Regions from separate parts of the Homo sapiens genome. Here regions 1, 3, 4, 5 and 6 are each linked to region 2. The links are contacts of gene promoters, found by promoter capture Hi-C in blood cells and fetal thymus (Javierre and others, 2016). All regions are on one chromosome and are shown on one strand. Each heading gives the region's core, a stretch centred on a gene start or on the middle of the fragment in contact. The rest is flanking DNA. Distances are from core to core; before and after follow the strand shown. Region 1 has its middle 120 kb from the start of FAM30A. Region 2 holds the start of TMEM121 (transmembrane protein 121). Region 3 has its middle 7.9 kb from the start of PLD4. Region 4 overlaps AHNAK2 (AHNAK nucleoprotein 2). Region 5 has its middle 20 kb from the start of LINC00226. Region 6 has its middle 140 kb from the start of FAM30A.

Evidence for each region. Contacts are between HindIII fragments. The CHiCAGO score rates a contact against its expected background, and 5 or more counts as called.
Region 1: a fragment that was not itself captured here is called in contact with the fragment with the promoter of TMEM121 in region 2 in 3 of 17 cell types (total B cells, erythroblasts and M2 macrophages); the score reaches 5.9 in total B cells.
Region 3: a fragment that was not itself captured here is called in contact with the fragment with the promoter of TMEM121 in region 2 in 2 of 17 cell types (monocytes and naive CD8 T cells); the score reaches 6.6 in monocytes.
Region 4: a contact is called between a fragment that was not itself captured here and the fragment with the promoter of TMEM121 in region 2, in 1 of 17 cell types (monocytes). The highest score is 5.1, in monocytes.
Region 5: a contact is called between a fragment that was not itself captured here and the fragment with the promoter of TMEM121 in region 2, in 1 of 17 cell types (naive B cells). The highest score is 5.5, in naive B cells.
Region 6: a fragment that was not itself captured here is called in contact with the fragment with the promoter of TMEM121 in region 2 in 2 of 17 cell types (total B cells and naive B cells); the score reaches 6.0 in total B cells.

Annotation. Positions count from the first base shown.
Region 1 is chr14:106,037,019-106,040,090 of GRCh38, reverse strand. It overlaps IGH, IGHV2-5 and the pseudogene IGHVIII-5-1. Among named protein-coding and RNA genes, the nearest start is that of FAM30A, 120 kb to the right of the region's middle. The HindIII fragment of the contact is 6,337 bases long and covers 1-3,072 here.
Region 2 is chr14:105,525,156-105,528,467 of GRCh38, reverse strand. It overlaps TMEM121 (transmembrane protein 121), which reads right to left and starts at 1,885. Exons shown (of 2, transcript NM_025268.4): 1 at 1,815-1,885. RefSeq lists a silencer at 18-227. The HindIII fragment of the contact is 18,865 bases long and covers 1-3,312 here.
Region 3 is chr14:104,915,484-104,918,445 of GRCh38, reverse strand. No RefSeq gene overlaps it. Among named protein-coding and RNA genes, the nearest start is that of PLD4, 7.9 kb to the left of the region's middle. RefSeq lists a silencer at 2,770-2,962. The HindIII fragment of the contact is 308 bases long and covers 1,496-1,803 here.
Region 4 is chr14:104,937,369-104,940,476 of GRCh38, reverse strand. It overlaps AHNAK2 (AHNAK nucleoprotein 2), which reads left to right. Exons shown (of 7, transcript NM_138420.4): 7 at 1-3,108. The coding sequence ends at 2,414. It also overlaps a transcript of PLD4 not described here. Among named protein-coding and RNA genes, the nearest start is that of PLD4, 14 kb to the right of the region's middle. RefSeq lists an enhancer at 482-982. The HindIII fragment of the contact is 1,501 bases long and covers 1,104-2,604 here.
Region 5 is chr14:106,265,865-106,268,771 of GRCh38, reverse strand. It overlaps IGH and IGHV3-23. Among named protein-coding and RNA genes, the nearest start is that of LINC00226, 20 kb to the left of the region's middle. The HindIII fragment of the contact is 5,888 bases long and covers 1-2,907 here.
Region 6 is chr14:106,060,963-106,063,840 of GRCh38, reverse strand. It overlaps IGH and IGHV3-7. Among named protein-coding and RNA genes, the nearest start is that of FAM30A, 140 kb to the right of the region's middle. The HindIII fragment of the contact is 4,678 bases long and covers 1-2,878 here.

The DNA.
Region 1 (3,072 bases), core at 151-2,650, 510 kb before region 2:
ATAACTATATATGTCTAATTCCTCTTTTCTATCCCTTTTTTATTTTATCAGTTTGTAATTACATAAGCTATAAAAATGTAATATTGACATTTTTATAATTGCTTTACACATTTATGTAATAAAGAAAACACAAATGCAAAAACTAAATTTAAACCTCATTTTTTTCATTGTTGACAATCTTTATCTTTTGGATACATTCAGGTATTGGATGTATATCATATGGCTGCTCATCTAGAAACTCTGCTAAAACGTCTATGGCAAGATTAATATGCTGGGAATAGATTTTCTCAGGATTTGTTTGTCCGACAGAGTATTTATTTGTCTTTGATTTATCATCTCAAGAGACAATGTCAAGAAGATGCTGTTTCTGCAAATGGGCAATCTGCAAACCAAGGACACGTCACTACATTACTGTGCAAGAGAAGCACATGAGGAAAGGCCGGTGTGAGACACAAACCTCCAGGAACACCTGGGCTAATGAGCTGCAGGGGGTGCTCAGGACCCACTGATCAGTCAACCACAGAGGGGAGTGCAAAGGTTAGGACTGCTTTCCTGCAAGCATTGAAAAAAGAAGAAAAAAACTCCGTCTGACAGTTTCTCCAAGGAACTTCTGTAATTTTAGAATTCTGTGCCTACCAATGACATCTCCAAATATTTTTTTAAAATATTGTGTTTTGAGGACATACTCTCACATGGACAAAACACAAATTGACACAGAGATGAAAAGCCCTCAACCATAGTCACCAAAATTGGAGACATGTAGAAGCTCACTGGGACCTGTTGAGTCTTCTCCAATCACACTCAGAACAGAGACCTTAGTGGGTCTCCCTTAGAGTAGTCATTAAGGATGGTGATAACAGCCTAAAGATGGTAGACCATGGTCAGTGTCATATAGAATATGGGGACCCTCACAAGTTTTTTGTCTGACCCTTCTCCTGACACTAAATTATGCAAATTAATAACACTGATCTGGTGCTTCTTTTGATTCTAATTTATTTTATTTTTAGTTGTCGTTCTCACTTTTCCTTTGGATTTTCCTGCTCCCTGGAAAAGGTAAATGTGGTCTCCGTGACCTCAATTCAAGGGCTGAAGCCCTTTCCCTGTAGCTCAGCTGGGGCTCAGGCTGTGGCTACTGCAGCCATGTGGAAGAGGCTGAAGGGACTTTCTTCACTCTCCTTGCTCAGGACCATCCACTGTATTGTGTATAGGCTTCTCTGGAAATGCAAGTGGCCATTTGTAGTGAAAGAAATATGTTTGTCTGGTTAAAATGGGAGGTGGATGTAGAGTTAATTGGCTGCTACATAAACTGTCCTTCTCCACCAGTGCTTTTAGGATGAGATTGTGAAATTTGTAAGAATCAAAATGGAGTCACATATGTTAAAACCCTGACAAATGGATTCAGGAAGTGTAGGGAGAATTCTTACACACATATCCCTGACAACAAGAACTATCATAAAATAGTTCTTGCAAAAAGACCAACATGACCTCATAATCATGACTTCTGCAAAGACTTCTACTCAGAATCTACTTGCCCAGCCTTAGATTAATGCCATCTGAATTACACTGATCATGTTACTATCACTGCTCCTCACCACAGATGCAACACCCTCCTGAGTCCTGAAACCTGACTCCATCCCATAGAGTAGGGCACAGATGAGGGGAATGCAAATCTCCACCAGCTCCACCCTCCTCTGGGTTGAAAAAGCCGAGCACAGGTCCCAGCTCAGTGACTCCTGTGCCCCACCATGGACACACTTTGCTCCACGCTCCTGCTGCTGACCATCCCTTCATGTGAGTGCTGTGGTCAGGGACTCCTTCACGGGTGAAACATCAGTTTTCTTGTTTGTGGGCTTCATCTTCTTATGCTTTCTCCACAGGGGTCTTGTCCCAGATCACCTTGAAGGAGTCTGGTCCTACGCTGGTGAAACCCACACAGACCCTCACGCTGACCTGCACCTTCTCTGGGTTCTCACTCAGCACTAGTGGAGTGGGTGTGGGCTGGATCCGTCAGCCCCCAGGAAAGGCCCTGGAGTGGCTTGCACTCATTTATTGGGATGATGATAAGCGCTACAGCCCATCTCTGAAGAGCAGGCTCACCATCACCAAGGACACCTCCAAAAACCAGGTGGTCCTTACAATGACCAACATGGACCCTGTGGACACAGCCACATATTACTGTGCACACAGACCACAAAGACACAGCCCAGGGCACCTCCTGTACAAAAACCCAGGCTGCTTCTCATTGGTGCTCCCTCCCCACCTCTGCAGAACAGGAAAGTGCAGCTGAGATACGTTTTCCTGCCAGGGCCTGCATTTCCCATCCCCATTAGACTCAGAGCCCTGTCTTCCTCCTTCTTCTTTAATAATAAATGGCATGACTCCTGTTAATAGTTCATAGAAGCAGAAGCTGAGTCCTGTTTGTCAAACATTCAGCATGAAATGTTCATGTTACCTGGGCCAGATGCATCACTGGTATGTGGCCGCCAGTTTAATGGGCTCATACTACTCCAAGCGGCCGAATACAAAACAGCAGAACATATGCCTTTATTAAACTGCAGGAAATGACACTGGAGAAAAATGTGGGGATAAGGGAGCAGGAGGAATTGTGAAAATTCAGATAATAGCTTTTCTCGTAGAGAGAAAGGTGCGTTAATAAAATAATTTTATAAAACAATAAAACAGATGGAATGTGTCCCCATCACGGAGTGTCTCACAGTAACAGTGCAGAAATAAATTTCTAAAAATGTCGTAGGGTAGGTGTGATAGACAAGGCTTATTTCCACACAGGGAGCCCATAAATACCCATGTAATTAAAAATCCAGCTCTTAGAAAGGGAGTGCCTCAACTTGACATCAGAAACCCACGTCAGTGAGTCTGAGGAGCAATGTGGAAAAGAAATGGAAAATTCAACAATACCTTTCTTATGAAAATCCTAGCTCACGTTTCAACATGAAACATAACTGTCTACAATTTTAGGAAAACCATCCCATGGCAACAAGTCACTACACTCAAAAGGTACTGAGCTAACAGAGTTCCAGCAGTGAGCAGGTCAGTGCTGAAATCCCCGGAGAA
Region 2 (3,312 bases), core at 636-3,135:
TTCTGCCCGCCGAGCTCGTTCCCGGAGCCCGGGGGGGTTTGTCACTGCTGGGCCCGCGCCGCCCTCCCTCCTGGCTCCGGCGGCCCGGACCCCACGCCCGCGCTGCTGGCCTCAGGCCGTTTCCGCGGAGTTCCGGGAATACCCTCTCCCCGCCGCCGCACTGGGCAGGGAGGCGGGCCTGCCCCTCCGCTCTTGGAGTACCCAAGGAGGCCTCGGCCCTCCCAGGCTTTCTGATCCCGGACCGAGAGCCACCCAGGTCCCGATGCATCCGTCCCACAAGCCTCTCCGAGCCTCCCCGCCCCTGCCCGGCAGCCCCCACGCCCCTCCTCCCTGCACGGGCAGGCTCGGTCTCCCCTCCTGTCCACCATCCTGGGCGCGTGGCCACTGCCTGCCCTGCTCCCCATGGCTCCGCATTGCCTTGGCGAGGTGTTGTCCCCCACCCTCTGCCCCGGCAGAGCCACCCTGCTTTGCTCCTCTGCGCCAGGGCGATGCCTGTGGCTGCCCTCGAATCTCGGGAAGCCCGTCCACCAAGGCCCGTCGGGCTTCCACAGGCCCCTGCACCTCTGTCACACACCTGGCACTGGTCCTCATGGCCGTGCTGTCGGAGTCCCCGCACCTGGGCCTGTGCACACCTGGGTGACAATGGAGGCCCGCACACCCGCACCCACCCCAAAGTCACTGACAGGCTTACTCCCAGCCAGCCCCTCACCCCCTCCACAGCCCCAGGCCTGGGGCTCCGTTTACTGCCGTGTCTAGACAAAGGCATAAAATTTAATGTCCCCGTGACAGTCGGGCGCTCGGACTGCCCTGGTGACACCGCAGGCCCCACCGATCCGGGAAAGCGTTGAACTCTGCACTCCCACCCCTGCCCCCACCCAGCACCCGCCGCCCAGGATCCCCACAGCCACACACAGGACACCCCCACCCCTCGGAGCTCTGACAGGTCGCGAGGAGGGTGCCTTGAGGGTCCTCAGCCCATGCCCCTGCCTCCAAGCCTCCCCGCGCTCTGGGTCCCACCGGGACACTCACCCGGTTTTCACGTCCACTGGATCTACACGTCTGACCCAGGAAGCCCTCTCTGGGCCCATTCCAGGCCCACCTGGGCCTCCCCTAGCTGCAGCCGCAGCCTGAGAATTTCCTCCCTCTCCGCGCGTGGCGGGGCCAAATAAATAGCGGGGGAGCCACGGCGCCGCTCACCCTTTCCGGCCGTGCCTCCAGCCCCTCCGCCCCACTACGCTGTCGCTCGATCCTCAGTCACTTGGCAGATGCGGGCCGAGGGGCTCTGCGCTGGCGAAGGGACGGACTCCAGCCCCTAGCGGAGCCCCTACCCCGGCAAGCCAGAGCCCGGCCCGGCCACCTCTCCGTAGGGACCTGGCCCCAGGCCCACCTGTCCTGGGTCTCCTGGGCCCCGGCCGAGGCCCCTCCTCCCCCCACGCCCCGCGGCTCAGACCTGGCACAGACTCTGGGGCCTCCAGGCCCTTCACTGCCCGGGCCCCGCAAGGACCCTCGCCCCATAACCACCCCTCGGAGCCCCCGGGAGGAGGGGCGGGAGGGGGCTGCTGTGCTCCCGCCGCGGGCCGGTGCAGAGCTTGGGCCGCTCCCAGCAGGCTGCGTCTCTGCTTGTCCCCCCGAGGCTTCCCCACGCAGGGCCGGGTCCCCGTCACCCCGCCGGCCCCAGGCCTCACCCCTGCCGCATCGGCCCCCGCCCCACCCCACAGTCCCCACGGCCCAGAGGTGCAGGGTCGCCCAGGCCCGCCGCCCCCTCCGCGGACGCAGCCGCGCACCCAGCCAGTCCCGCCCGCGCCCGCGCCTACCCCGCCGCCCGCAGATGCTGCGCCGCTCCCGGGCCCGCCCGCCCAGCCTCTGCCGCCACTGCCGGGGCCGCGCCGGCTCCTCCCGCCGCGCCCCTCCCCCGCCCGCGCGGCACCGCCCCCGACCCAGAGGCCCCGCCCCGCGCCCCTCGGCCCGCGAGCCCCGCCGGACCTGGGGACCTGGGAGCGCGGGGGTGCCGGTGCCCCGCCCCCTCCGCAGCGCCGGTTGCCACGGCGACAGCACCGCGCGGCGGCGCGCAGGACTGGTGGCTCTGGGGAGCGGGGCGCCCTCGCGCACCCCCAGGCGCGGAGTCCCGTCTCCACCCTCCTCACCCACCGCCCAGAATCCCAGGGTCCCGCCCAGTGCCCCCCGCGCCCTGAAACTCCGCTGCCGCCCCCTAGAGCGACCCCACTCAGCCGGACAGGCGCCCACCGGCCCAGGAGCTGACAGGGATGTAGGCGCGGGGCTGGCCTGGCCGCCGGGGCCCTCCGCGCCACCCTCTGTCCTCTTTGGGGAGAAACCCAGCCTTCCCAGGTTTCTTCTCAGGGCAGAGGAAAGGAATGATGAGCGGCCCCCACCTTCTTCTCCAGCCCGTCCAGGAGGCAAGCTAGGGTTTGGGGACTTGGGCTTCATTTTGTCACTGAGGTGGCACTAAGCCCCTCCCCCCACATCCTGTCCATCCCGTGTGAGCCAGAGAAGAACCCGAGGGCACCTTCTGCCTGCCTGCCCTCCTTCCCAGAACTGCTGTGACTTCCCTCTGACATAGGAGGAGACTGAGGGTCAGAGAGGTAAAGGGACACCAGATTTGGTGGAAAGACCAGAATTTGAGGCACCACCCAACTGGTAGTGAACTTCCAGATTCTCTTCCCGTATCCCCGGGCCTGGACTCAACACGGCCTGAAAGCCAGAAGAGGACAGAGAGCTCCAGAAGTTCTCTAGTCCTGGCACAAGGGGAGGAAAGAAAAAGGTCGCCTAATGCTCCCAGGGTGCAGGAGAATGCCCGGGGGGATGTTAGGGTTTGGGAGGATGGGGTTTTTTGGTAGTGGTTGTTTTTTTACTCTTCTCCATTCTCTGATGCCCCAGCCCCTAGGTATCCCACCAAAGCCATGACCAAGGCATAGGGTTTACAAGCACCTAAAACGCTGAGGCAGAAGAGCCTTCCTTTCCAGCCCCAGGAGATGTGGTCCCCTGTCGCTGGAGAGATGGTGGGCAGGGAGAAGCAGTAGAAAGCAATCCATGGGCTGGGCGTGGTGGCTCACACCTGTAATTCCAGCACTTTGGGAGGCCGATGTGGGCGGATTACCTGAGGTCGGGAGTTCGAGACCAGCCTGGCCAACATGGTGAAACCCCCATCTCTACTAAAAATATAAAAATTAGCCGGGCGTGGTGGCACACACCTGTAATCCCAGCTACTCGGGAGGCTGAAGCAGGAGAATTGCTTGAGTCCGGGAGATGGAGGTTGCAGTGAGCCGAGATCTTGCCACTGCACTCCAGCCTGGG
Region 3 (2,962 bases), core at 400-2,899, 610 kb after region 2:
CTGAGGCACGAGAATCCCTTGAATCCGGGAGGCAGAGGTTGCAGTGAGCCAAGATTGCATCACTGAACTCCAGCCTGGGCAATAGAACAAGACTCTGTCTCAAAAGAAAATGCATTATGCATTTAATACCCCTAACTTACTGAACATCATAGCATAGCCTGACCTTAAACGTGATCAGAACACTTGCAGACATTTCTTTTTGTTGTTGTTGTTGTTGAGATGGAGTCTTGTTCTGTTGCCCAGGGTGGAGTTTGGTGATGCAATCTTGGCTCACTGCAACCTCTGCCTCCCAGATTCAAGGGATTATCATGCCTCAGCCTACGGAGTAGCTGGGACCACAGGCAAGCGCCACCATGCCTGGCTAAGTTTTGTATTTTTAGTAGACATGGGGTTTCACCACGTTTGTCAGGCTGGTCTTGAACTCCTGACATTGTGATCTGCCCTCCTTGGCCTCCCAAAGTGCTGGGATTACAGGAGTGAGCCACGGCACCTGGCCAACTTACAGATATTTCTGAGAAGAAGATATACAAAGGCCGGGCTTGGTAGCTCACGCCTGTAATCCCAGCACTTTGGGAGGCCAAGGCGGATGGATCACCTGAGGTCAGGAGTTTGAGACCAGCCTGACCAATATGGTGTACCCCTGTCTCTACTAAAAATACAAAAATTAGCCGGGCATGGTGGCAGGTGCTTCTAGTCCCAGCTACTCAGGAGGCTGAGGCAGGAGAATCTCTTGAACCCGGGAGGCGGAGGTTGCAGTGAGCTGAGATGGCACCACTGCACTCCAGCCTGGGCAACAGAGTGAGACTCTGTCTCAAAAAAAACACAAAAACCAAAAAAACATGGCTAACAGGCATATGATTTCACCCTAGAGTTGGGCAAAATCACCTAACACAAAGCCCACTTTATAATAAAGTGTCAATACCTTGTGTAACTTATTGAATACTACACTGAAAGTGAAAAACAGAATGGTTGTGTGGGTGCTCAAAGCATGGTTTCTACTGAAGGTGTGTCACTTTTGCACCACGATAAAGTTGAAAGATCATTAACTCGAATTGTCCTAAGATGGGACCATCTGTACTTGAATCGTGGGGAGTGCCGCTTTCATGAAAGGAAGCGTCCACTGATGCGGCAAACTTCATTGTTGTCTTATTTAAGAAACTGCCACAGCCACTCCAGCCTTCAGCAAGTACCACCCTATCAGTCAGCAGCCATCAACACTGAGGCGAGACCCTCACCGGCAAAAAGATTACAACTCCCCCAAGGCTCAGATGATTATTAGCATTTTTTAGCAATAAGATATTTTAAAATTAAGGTACGTACAGTTTTTTTTCAACTTAATGGTATTGTACACTTACTAGACTACGTAAAGTATAAAGATAACTTTTGTATGCACTGGAAAGCTGAAACATTTATGTGACATTGCAGCGGCCTGGAATTGAGTCGGCAATACTTGCAACATATGTGTAGTTCTTGCTGGCGAGGCAGGAGAAAAGCTTGAATCTTTCTCTCTAATTACCAATTTTCAGGGTAAGGGGTTTGTGCAATGGGCTGTCTCTGATGGTGGCAGATGAGTTTTTGTTTGCTTTTTGCTTTAGTTTTCTTTCTTTGACTTTTTGATGTATCATTATGGACTCACGGATTATTATATATTTAATGTGTTTTGATCCAGTTCAGTCATCATTCTTTGGTCAGTGGGAGCTCTTTCATCATTTTTGCTGGAAAATTTAAAAGTAATGGGCAGAGATAAATGATATTTTACCTCTAAATACTTGAGTATGCATTTCTGAATAAAGAAGGAAAGCTTCCTGCATAATCACAGCTTCATTACCCCACTAACAAAATCCATCATTCTGGCCACTATATTCTTTTTTCATATTTCCAATAATCTATGCATCTTAATTCAGCTGCTTTCTGCCACAACAAGATCTTCCAGCCTTATCTTATTACACATTTCCTGCACCAGACCTGGACTCAGCTACTTACTGAGGAGTCCATGGGTCTTTAAAGTGGGGAAATGGCATTTAGAAACCCAGGTTAAATCATGAGTTCCTATTGATAGTTCCAATTCAAATTTAACATTAAAAATTTTCCTTAGGCTGGGAACAATGGCTTACGCCTGTAATCCCAGCACTTTGGGAGGCCAAGGTGGGTAGATCGCTTGAGCTCAAGAGTTTGAGAGCAGCCTGGGAAACATAGCAAAACCTCATTTCTACAAAAAATACAAAAAATTAGTTGGGTGTGGTGGTGCACACCTGTAGTCCCACCTATGTGGGAGTTTGAGGTAGGAGGATTGCTTGAGCCCATGAGGTCTAGGCTGCAGTGAGTCGAGATGGCACCACTGCACTCCAGCCTTGGTGACAGAGCAGAGACCATGTCTCAAAAAAAAAAAAAAAAAAAAAAGAGTTTTTCTTAATTTCTTTGGTTTTGTACTTGTATGTCATTTCTCTTATATGGAAAATTTTGGCTCCTAACAACTTTAATGTAATTACTAGCTTTAGCTTACCCTATATTTAACATGTTTTCAAAATAACAATTCCAATATCTCTACAGCCAGTAATACTAGTAAGAGAAATTTAAGATTTCTTTGCAAGTTTTTTTTTCTTTTGCTGTTATCTAAGTGTGTAAAGCCAAATACTCTGCTCTAAAGGCCCCCCTGTTTTTTCACATTGAGGTGTTGTCTACACCTGGAACTGATTGCTTTGGAAGGCTGGAGGCAGAGTTCCATTTCACTTCTTTTCCTCGTGGGTATTTAAGACTATTCCGTCTTCCTCCAACAGATATGTCTGGCCAGCTCTGACGAACTCAAGTCGCCACATGTGCGGGTCTTTGTCCCGGTTCTCTTTCCCATTCCGTTGATCCGTTTCTCTCCGTGCTGTGTTGTTCTATATTCATTATCACAGCTTTGTTCTGAGGTGCGCGGTCTGATGAGCAAGTCTCTCCCTTCTTTAGAAGCACCATGTGC
Region 4 (3,108 bases), core at 605-3,104, 590 kb after region 2:
AGGATGAAGTGGCCCCGCAGTCTGCCATCCACATGGATCTGCCTCCTGAGAGGGATGGAGAGAAGGGGAGGAGCACAAAGCCTGGCTTTGCCATGCCAAAACTTGCACTTCCCAAAATGAAGGCTTCTAAGAGTGGGGTCAGCCTGCCACAGAGAGACGTGGATCCTTCCCTTTCTAGTGCCACAGCAGGGGGTAGCTTTCAAGACACAGAAAAGGCCAGCAGTGACGGTGGTAGGGGAGGACTTGGTGCAACAGCAAGTGCCACAGGAAGTGAGGGTGTGAACCTCCACCGGCCACAGGTCCACATTCCCAGTTTGGGCTTTGCCAAACCTGATCTCAGATCCTCCAAGGCCAAGGTGGAGGTGAGCCAGCCTGAAGCTGACCTGCCTCTTCCCAAACATGATCTGTCTACCGAAGGTGACAGCAGAGGATGTGGGCTCGGGGATGTCCCAGTGAGCCAGCCTTGTGGGGAGGGGATAGCCCCCACACCTGAAGATCCCCTCCAGCCATCCTGTAGAAAACCAGATGCTGAAGTCCTCACAGTGGAAAGCCCAGAGGAGGAAGCCATGACCAAGTACTCGCAGGAAAGCTGGTTTAAAATGCCCAAGTTCCGCATGCCCAGCCTTAGGCGCTCTTTCAGGGACAGAGGCGGGGCTGGAAAGCTGGAAGTGGCTCAGACACAGGCACCGGCAGCAACAGGGGGTGAAGCAGCAGCTAAAGTCAAAGAGTTCCTTGTTTCTGGGTCAAACGTGGAGGCAGCTATGTCCCTACAGCTCCCAGAGGCAGATGCAGAAGTGACAGCTTCTGAGAGCAAATCATCCACAGATATTCTAAGGTGTGATCTTGACAGCACAGGCTTGAAGCTGCACCTCTCCACTGCTGGGATGACTGGGGATGAGCTTTCCACTTCTGAGGTCAGGATCCATCCATCCAAAGGACCTCTCCCTTTTCAGATGCCTGGCATGAGGCTTCCAGAAACCCAGGTTCTTCCAGGAGAAATAGATGAGACTCCTCTTTCCAAGCCAGGACATGACCTTGCCAGCATGGAGGATAAAACAGAGAAATGGTCTTCCCAGCCTGAAGGTCCACTTAAATTGAAAGCTTCAAGTACTGATATGCCATCCCAGATTTCTGTGGTTAATGTGGATCAACTGTGGGAAGATTCTGTCCTAACTGTCAAATTCCCCAAATTAATGGTACCAAGGTTCTCCTTCCCTGCCCCCAGCTCAGAGGATGATGTGTTCATCCCCACTGTGAGGGAAGTGCAGTGTCCAGAGGCCAATATTGATACAGCCCTTTGTAAGGAAAGTCCGGGGCTCTGGGGAGCCAGCATCCTGAAGGCAGGTGCTGGGGTCCCTGGGGAGCAGCCTGTGGACCTTAACCTGCCTTTGGAAGCTCCCCCAATTTCAAAGGTCAGAGTGCATATTCAGGGTGCTCAGGTTGAAAGTCAAGAGGTCACTATACACAGCATAGTGACACCAGAGTTTGTAGATCTCTCAGTACCCAGGACTTTTTCCACTCAGATTGTGCGGGAATCAGAGATCCCCACGTCAGAGATTCAAACACCTTCGTACGGATTTTCCTTATTAAAAGTGAAAATCCCAGAGCCCCACACGCAGGCTAGAGTGTACACAACAATGACTCAACACTCTAGGACTCAGGAGGGCACAGAAGAGGCTCCCATACAAGCCACCCCAGGAGTAGACTCCATTTCTGGAGATCTCCAGCCTGACACTGGAGAACCATTTGAGATGATCTCTTCCAGCGTCAATGTACTGGGACAGCAAACACTCACATTTGAAGTTCCTTCTGGCCACCAGCTTGCAGACAGCTGTTCAGATGAGGAGCCAGCAGAAATTCTTGAGTTTCCCCCTGATGATAGCCAAGAGGCAACCACACCACTGGCAGATGAAGGCAGGGCTCCAAAAGACAAACCAGAAAGTAAAAAATCTGGTCTGCTCTGGTTTTGGCTTCCAAACATTGGGTTTTCCTCTTCTGTTGATGAGACAGGTGTTGATTCCAAAAATGACGTCCAGAGATCTGCTCCCATTCAAACACAGCCTGAGGCACGACCAGAGGCAGAACTGCCTAAAAAACAGGAGAAGGCAGGCTGGTTCCGATTTCCCAAATTAGGGTTCTCCTCATCTCCTACCAAGAAAAGCAAAAGCACCGAAGATGGGGCAGAGCTGGAAGAACAAAAACTTCAAGAAGAAACAATCACGTTTTTTGATGCCCGAGAAAGTTTCTCCCCTGAAGAGAAGGAAGAGGGTGAACTGATCGGGCCTGTGGGCACTGGGCTGGACTCCAGAGTGATGGTGACATCCGCGGCAAGAACAGAGTTAATCCTGCCCGAGCAGGACAGAAAAGCTGACGATGAAAGCAAAGGGTCAGGCCTGGGACCAAATGAAGGCTGAGAGGTATGGCTCATCAGTACAAGAGAGATGCAAAAAACTAAGTTGGAAAGTAAAGGCTACACACACATATGGAGCACCCCATCCCACAGCACATTACATCCACCTCACTTCACAGAACGGAGAACAGAGCAGAAATGACCAGAACACCTTTGTCACCATCACACAGCCCTCCTAAAATGGAACCAAAGCTTCCCAGCTCCCTCAAAGCTTTGGATGCAAAGAAGGCACCCTGACTTCCACAAGACACCAGAATTCACACGGTACTCAGAGGCACTGCTGGGGAAGTTTGTTGGTCTTTATTAGATAAATTTCCAGAGACCTGTCCATAATACCCAACAGAACATGACTGTTTCTTTGAGGAAAGGGTTATAATGTCTGTGGTGTACAAGTCGTTTTTGGTATAACTTCTTTCCTGCTGCTGCTGCTTCCCGGCAAACATAGTTTTCCTATTTCAGGCAGAGTGCGGTATATTCCAGGAAACACTGTTTCCTACTCACTTAGCTTACTTCTTTGTTGAATGCCTCACTAATGGCAAGTTTCAAGATGTTTTGGGTGACAATGCACACATGCTGGGCAAAAGGGTGATGGCCAGTGGCTGGCAGCTGGGCCAGCAGAAGCTAGGACATCTGTGAGTTGTCATTCTCATCTATCCATGTCCACTGGCCTGCCAGCATCCGCCAGTGCCTTGCCAGTG
Region 5 (2,907 bases), core at 1-2,500, 740 kb before region 2:
GGCTGGAGTGGGTCTCAGCTATTAGTGGTAGTGGTGGTAGCACATACTACGCAGACTCCGTGAAGGGCCGGTTCACCATCTCCAGAGACAATTCCAAGAACACGCTGTATCTGCAAATGAACAGCCTGAGAGCCGAGGACACGGCCGTATATTACTGTGCGAAAGACACAGTGAGGGGAAGTCATTGTGAGCCCAGACACAAACCTCCCTGCAGGAACGATGGGGGGGAAATCAGCGGCAGGGGGCGCTCAGGACCCGCTGATCAGAGTCATCCCCAGAGGCAGGTGCAGATGGAGGCTGTTTCCTGTCAGGGTGTGGGACTTCATCTTCTTCTGACAGTTTCTCTAGTGAACCTCTCTAACCTCAGAATTCTGTGCTTACTAATGTCATCTCTACGTATTTTTTAAAAGATCATTTTAATATGAGCACCTATTCTCACACGCACCAAATGCAGATTGACGCTTACAGAGATGAAAAGTTCTCAACCATGGTCACCAGGATGAGAGTCCTGAGGAAACTCAGGGGTGCCTGGTGACTCTTCCGCAATCAGTCCTGGGACAGAAACCTCAGGGACAGCCTTTATGAGTTTTGATCACATCTAACAGAGAGGATGGGCCAGGGCCAGAGTCATGTAGAACCTCACAGGTTCCACGTCTGACCCTTCTCCTGACACTAAAGCCAATCAGCATCAGCACTGACCTGGTGCTCCTTTTGCTCCCAATCCATGTTCTTTCTTTGGAGAGTTTCTTCTCCCTTTTTTATTTGCTTTTCCTGTTTCCTGAAAAAGAAACAGATGGTCCCCTTGGTCCACATTCCAGGGCTCAAGGCATTTTCTTGGAGCTCAGGTGGGGCTCAGGCTGTGGCTCCTGCAGCCACGTGGGAGAGGCTGATGGGACTTCCTTCTCTCCCCATTTTCTCAGGACCCTCCACTGTGTTGTGTGTAGGCTCATCTGGGAATGCAGTTGACCATTAATACTGAAGGGGACAAACTCATTTGATCAAAATGGGATGTGGATGTGGAGTTAACCCTGTTCCGTGCACAGTGTCAGAGTCGTCTGCTTCAGAAGTAGTGTTAGAAAGAGCTGGTGAAATTTATCAGAATCAAGATGGAGCCACTTGTGTTAAAGCCCTAATGAATGAAGCTGGGGAAGGCCATGAAGGAGGGTTCTAACACACATATTCCTGATAATAAGAACTACCATAAATAGACTCTGCACAACCATAACCTTGCACAGAAGCCACCACAACATTAAAAGAATTACTTCTCCCAGTGTATCTGCCCAGCAACTCCCTGTTCAACTTTACACCGATGTGCCCCTGTTATTGATCCTTCTAGCCCAGGACAATTGTCTTAAACAGCTGATGTGACCCTCCTCATTTTTCCTTTATTCTTTATCTTCCTATACCAACCTGAATGCACCCATACATTTCAATTGCAATACACTTCCTAGAATACATATTATTATATTTTAGAGTCTCTCTCTCTCTGTTATTCAGGGTTGACAAGCTACAGATGGACATGCCACTTTCTTTTTTTATGACTTTTTTTAAAAATTTTATTATTCTTGTACTTTAAGTTTTAGGGTACCTGTGAACAATGCAGGTTTGTTACATATGTATACATGTGCCATGTTGTTGTGCTCCACCCATTAACTCGTCATTTAGCATTAGGTATACCTCCTAATGCTCTCCCTCCCCACTACCCCCACCCCACAACAGTCCCTGGAGTGTGATGTTCCTCTTCCTGTGTCCATGTGTTCTCATTGTTCAATTCCCACCTATGAGTGAGGAAAAAAATGATGAGTTCATGTCCTTTGTAGGGACACGGAAGAAACTGGAAACCATCCTTCTATCATTCTCAGCAAACTATCGCAAGGACAAAAGACATGCCACTTTTCTGTGAGATGTGGAGGATGACAGTTTTTGGAGATGTCTGGGAATACCCAGTGTCCAGAAGATCATCCATCAATAAGTGCAGGCTGGAGGTCCCAGAGAGAGGCAAAGCTGCTGAAACACCATGGAATTTCATTTTCTCCAGTTCTGCTCTGATGGAATCAGGCCCACCTGTTTTGCTTGTCTTAAGTAAATTCACAGCACCACATATATTAGTGTTGCAGTGAATAACTACAAAGTCTATCCTAACCAAGTGTACCATCAAATTTACCATTACCCAGAGGGAAGAATCTTTAACATGAGATCTATGTTCATAATTTTTTAAGGTGAAAAAGTGATCACTATCCAATCAGGCAAATATGATTTTGCTAATGAGTGGTAGATGTTGCATGTATTTTTGGATGTCATCCCTTTTTCAGATGCATGGCTTGCAATTATATTTTCCCATTCTGTAGGTTGGAATTATTTCCACACTTTGTAGAATCTTTTTGTTGTGATGTAGTTCCACCTGTTTAATTCTGCTTTTGTTGTCTGTGCCTTTAATGTGAAATATAGGAAATCATTGTTAATATATTATTTTCTGGGTCGGGGAAATTTTACAATTGCAGGCCATATGTTTAAATATCTGGCCCATTCAGAGTGATTTTTGTGTTTATTCTAACCCAAAATTCTTAACTCTTTGCATGTGTACATCCAGTTTTTCTAACACATTCATAGGGAGAGACTTGGTTTATCTGTTTTATATTGTGGGTTCTTATGCTGAAAATCAGTTTGCCATTGATACATCAGTTTATTTCTGAGCTCTTTCTACATATTTATGCCAACTCCATCCTGTTTTTATTATTCTACTTTTGTTATTACTTTTGAAATCTGGAAGTAAGATGTAAGTTTATTTTTGCCTTTTTACAGATGCTATAGCAAAATATTTTAACCTTTCACTCTTCCATATAAAAGTATGGCTTTAAATAATGACTTTTATTATATACAGGTTATATTCTTGTATTCCTAACTTTT
Region 6 (2,878 bases), core at 142-2,641, 540 kb before region 2:
CCAGTGCCCCTAAGATCCTGGCTTTGGTGGCTTGCTCCTGCAGAGTAATTTCTTAGTTCTGCAATGGGGATTAAGGAGGTGGGTCTGAATGCATTTCAGAGTGTGGGCTCTTTTTCTCTCCCAGACAGACACATTGGGACAAAAGATTTTTGTGACTGTCCCCATTTTTGGGAAAAAGGTTTCAAGGTATAGGAAAGCTCTTCAGTATGTGGTCCCTGAGAAATTCACGCTACAACACATTTACCACACTTGACTTCACCAATTCAGTATCTATGTATTTTTTTCTCTTATAATAGCCTACATTTTTATATGCCAGACTCTGCCTCAGTTCAACTCGTACCCATGCCTTTTTACTCTCTGCAAGAACTTGTCTCTCCCTAAATTTCGGATTTGATGATTATCTTAAAACCTCCAGTATTTAAAGTATATTTTAAAATTGGCAAAATTCCATCTCCTGTGTTTATCTGTTATGTTGATGCTGTAAAACAGTAAGTAAAATATACTCCTCATCTATGTACATTTTGAAGCTGAGTTGCAGGTTTTTTGGTAAGACCCAGAGTCACAGAGAATTCAAATATTGTTAAGCTGCTTAATAGAAAAACAAATTATGGTAAATGTGTTCACTGGAATACTACCCATGATTTATAATAAATAAATGCCTGACACACAGAACAGCAGCAAAACCACACATGCTCTTATTACAGAAAGTGGCTTCTGAAAACCACACCGGGCATGTACAGCTTTGTCCTGGAGTTGGTTTAGGGGGATGTCAGAGCCAGTGACGAGAAGCACAGGGCCAGATGGCAGCGTTCACTCATCCCAGACATGAGCTCCTGGGTGCATACAGAGCCCCCCCATGTGTGGGTTTACTTCCACTTCTGTAAAAGGAGAAAATACTGACTCCTACAGAGCATAATTTACACATTTTTTAAAAAATGTAATAGGGTGATCAGGGCAAAGTGTTTATCACAGCACAATTTCATAAGACAGCATATTTTCCAAATACCATCATTGTCAGCAAACTTCTGCAGAGCACCGTCTTCTTATATGGGTACAGCCTATTCCTCCAGCATCCCACTAGAGCTTCTTATATAGTAGGAGACATGCAAATAGGGCCCTCCCTCTACTGATGAAAACCAACCCAACCCTGACCCTGCAGGTCTCAGAGAGGAGCCTTAGCCCTGGACTCCAAGGCCTTTCCACTTGGTGATCAGCACTGAGCACAGAGGACTCACCATGGAGTTGGGGCTGAGCTGGGTTTTCCTTGTTGCTATTTTAGAAGGTGATTCATGGAAAACTAGGAAGATTGAGTGTGTGTGGATATGAGTGTGAGAAACAGTGGATTTGTGTGGCAGTTTCTGACCTTGGTGTCTCTTTGTTTGCAGGTGTCCAGTGTGAGGTGCAGCTGGTGGAGTCTGGGGGAGGCTTGGTCCAGCCTGGGGGGTCCCTGAGACTCTCCTGTGCAGCCTCTGGATTCACCTTTAGTAGCTATTGGATGAGCTGGGTCCGCCAGGCTCCAGGGAAGGGGCTGGAGTGGGTGGCCAACATAAAGCAAGATGGAAGTGAGAAATACTATGTGGACTCTGTGAAGGGCCGATTCACCATCTCCAGAGACAACGCCAAGAACTCACTGTATCTGCAAATGAACAGCCTGAGAGCCGAGGACACGGCCGTGTATTACTGTGCGAGAGACACAGTGAGGGGAAGTCAGTGTGAGCCCAGACACAAACCTCCCTGCAGGGGTCCCTTGGGACCACCAGGGGGCGACAGGGCATTGAGCACGGGGCTGTCTCCAGGGCAGGTGCAGGTGCTGCTGAGGGCTGGCTTCCTGTCGCGGTCTGGGGCTGCCTCGTTGTCAAATTTCCCCAGGAACTTCTCCAGATTTACAATTCTGTACTGACATTTCATGTCTCTAAATGCAATACTTTTTTTGTCCTTTTTGTTTCTTTGTTTTTTTGCAACAGGAGTACATATCCTCAGCTCCACAGAAGCCAGGGTGTCACTTTGGGGGCAGAAATAATCCTTTCGTGGTCAACAGGATGAGAGTCCTGAGGAATCCCAGGGAAACCTGGAGAGTGTTTTCCAATTAGACTCAGGGCAGAGACCTCCATGGGAATTTCTGATTAGAACGGGCTTTGAGCTCTGATGGGAGCCAAGAGACAGGCTCACCCAGGGTCGGGGTCCTTAAAGCCTGATGGTTTTCACAGCTATCCCCCCTCGTCTTGTAAACTCAGACTGATTCAGTTGACCCTTTTTCTGCTAATCCATTTTGCTTCTCTGTAGGTTTGATTCTCACAGTTCGCTTTCTTCTTCTCTTCCCTGAGAACAAACGATGTGTTTTCTGTTTTCAGGGAAAATCCCAGGGCTCAGGTCTGCAGGACCTGGGTAGGCTGAGGAGACTTTCTCACTCACCATTGTCTGGACACTCCTGTTGTCTTCTGTGCATGGAGGCATTTGGGAAATGAAGTGGACATTAGTCATTAAGGGAATAATACTAGTTTTCTCCAATTGGATATTGATGTAGAGCTGAACTTGTGCTTCTCACACTGTCACAGAGTTTGGACCCTCACCTATAACTTTGAGGAGAGTTGATGATGGATAGTCCATTGTGGGTGAGCTCTGGGTAACAGTAATTGTAGGGTCTGGCTAGGCAGCCTAAGGTCAATACTTCTGGACCTCAGGAAAGACAGGCTGGAATTCCTGGGAAGACCTGCATCTGCCATCCACCGTGGAGTCCCATCATCTTCTGTTATGCTGTGATTGAATCAGCCCCACCTAGTTTATCTAGAACACTCTTCATGACTTAGGAAAACATAATGGCAAGCTCTCCTAACACCTGTATCATGCCATGGGAGCAACACCTAAGCTAGTGTGTGAT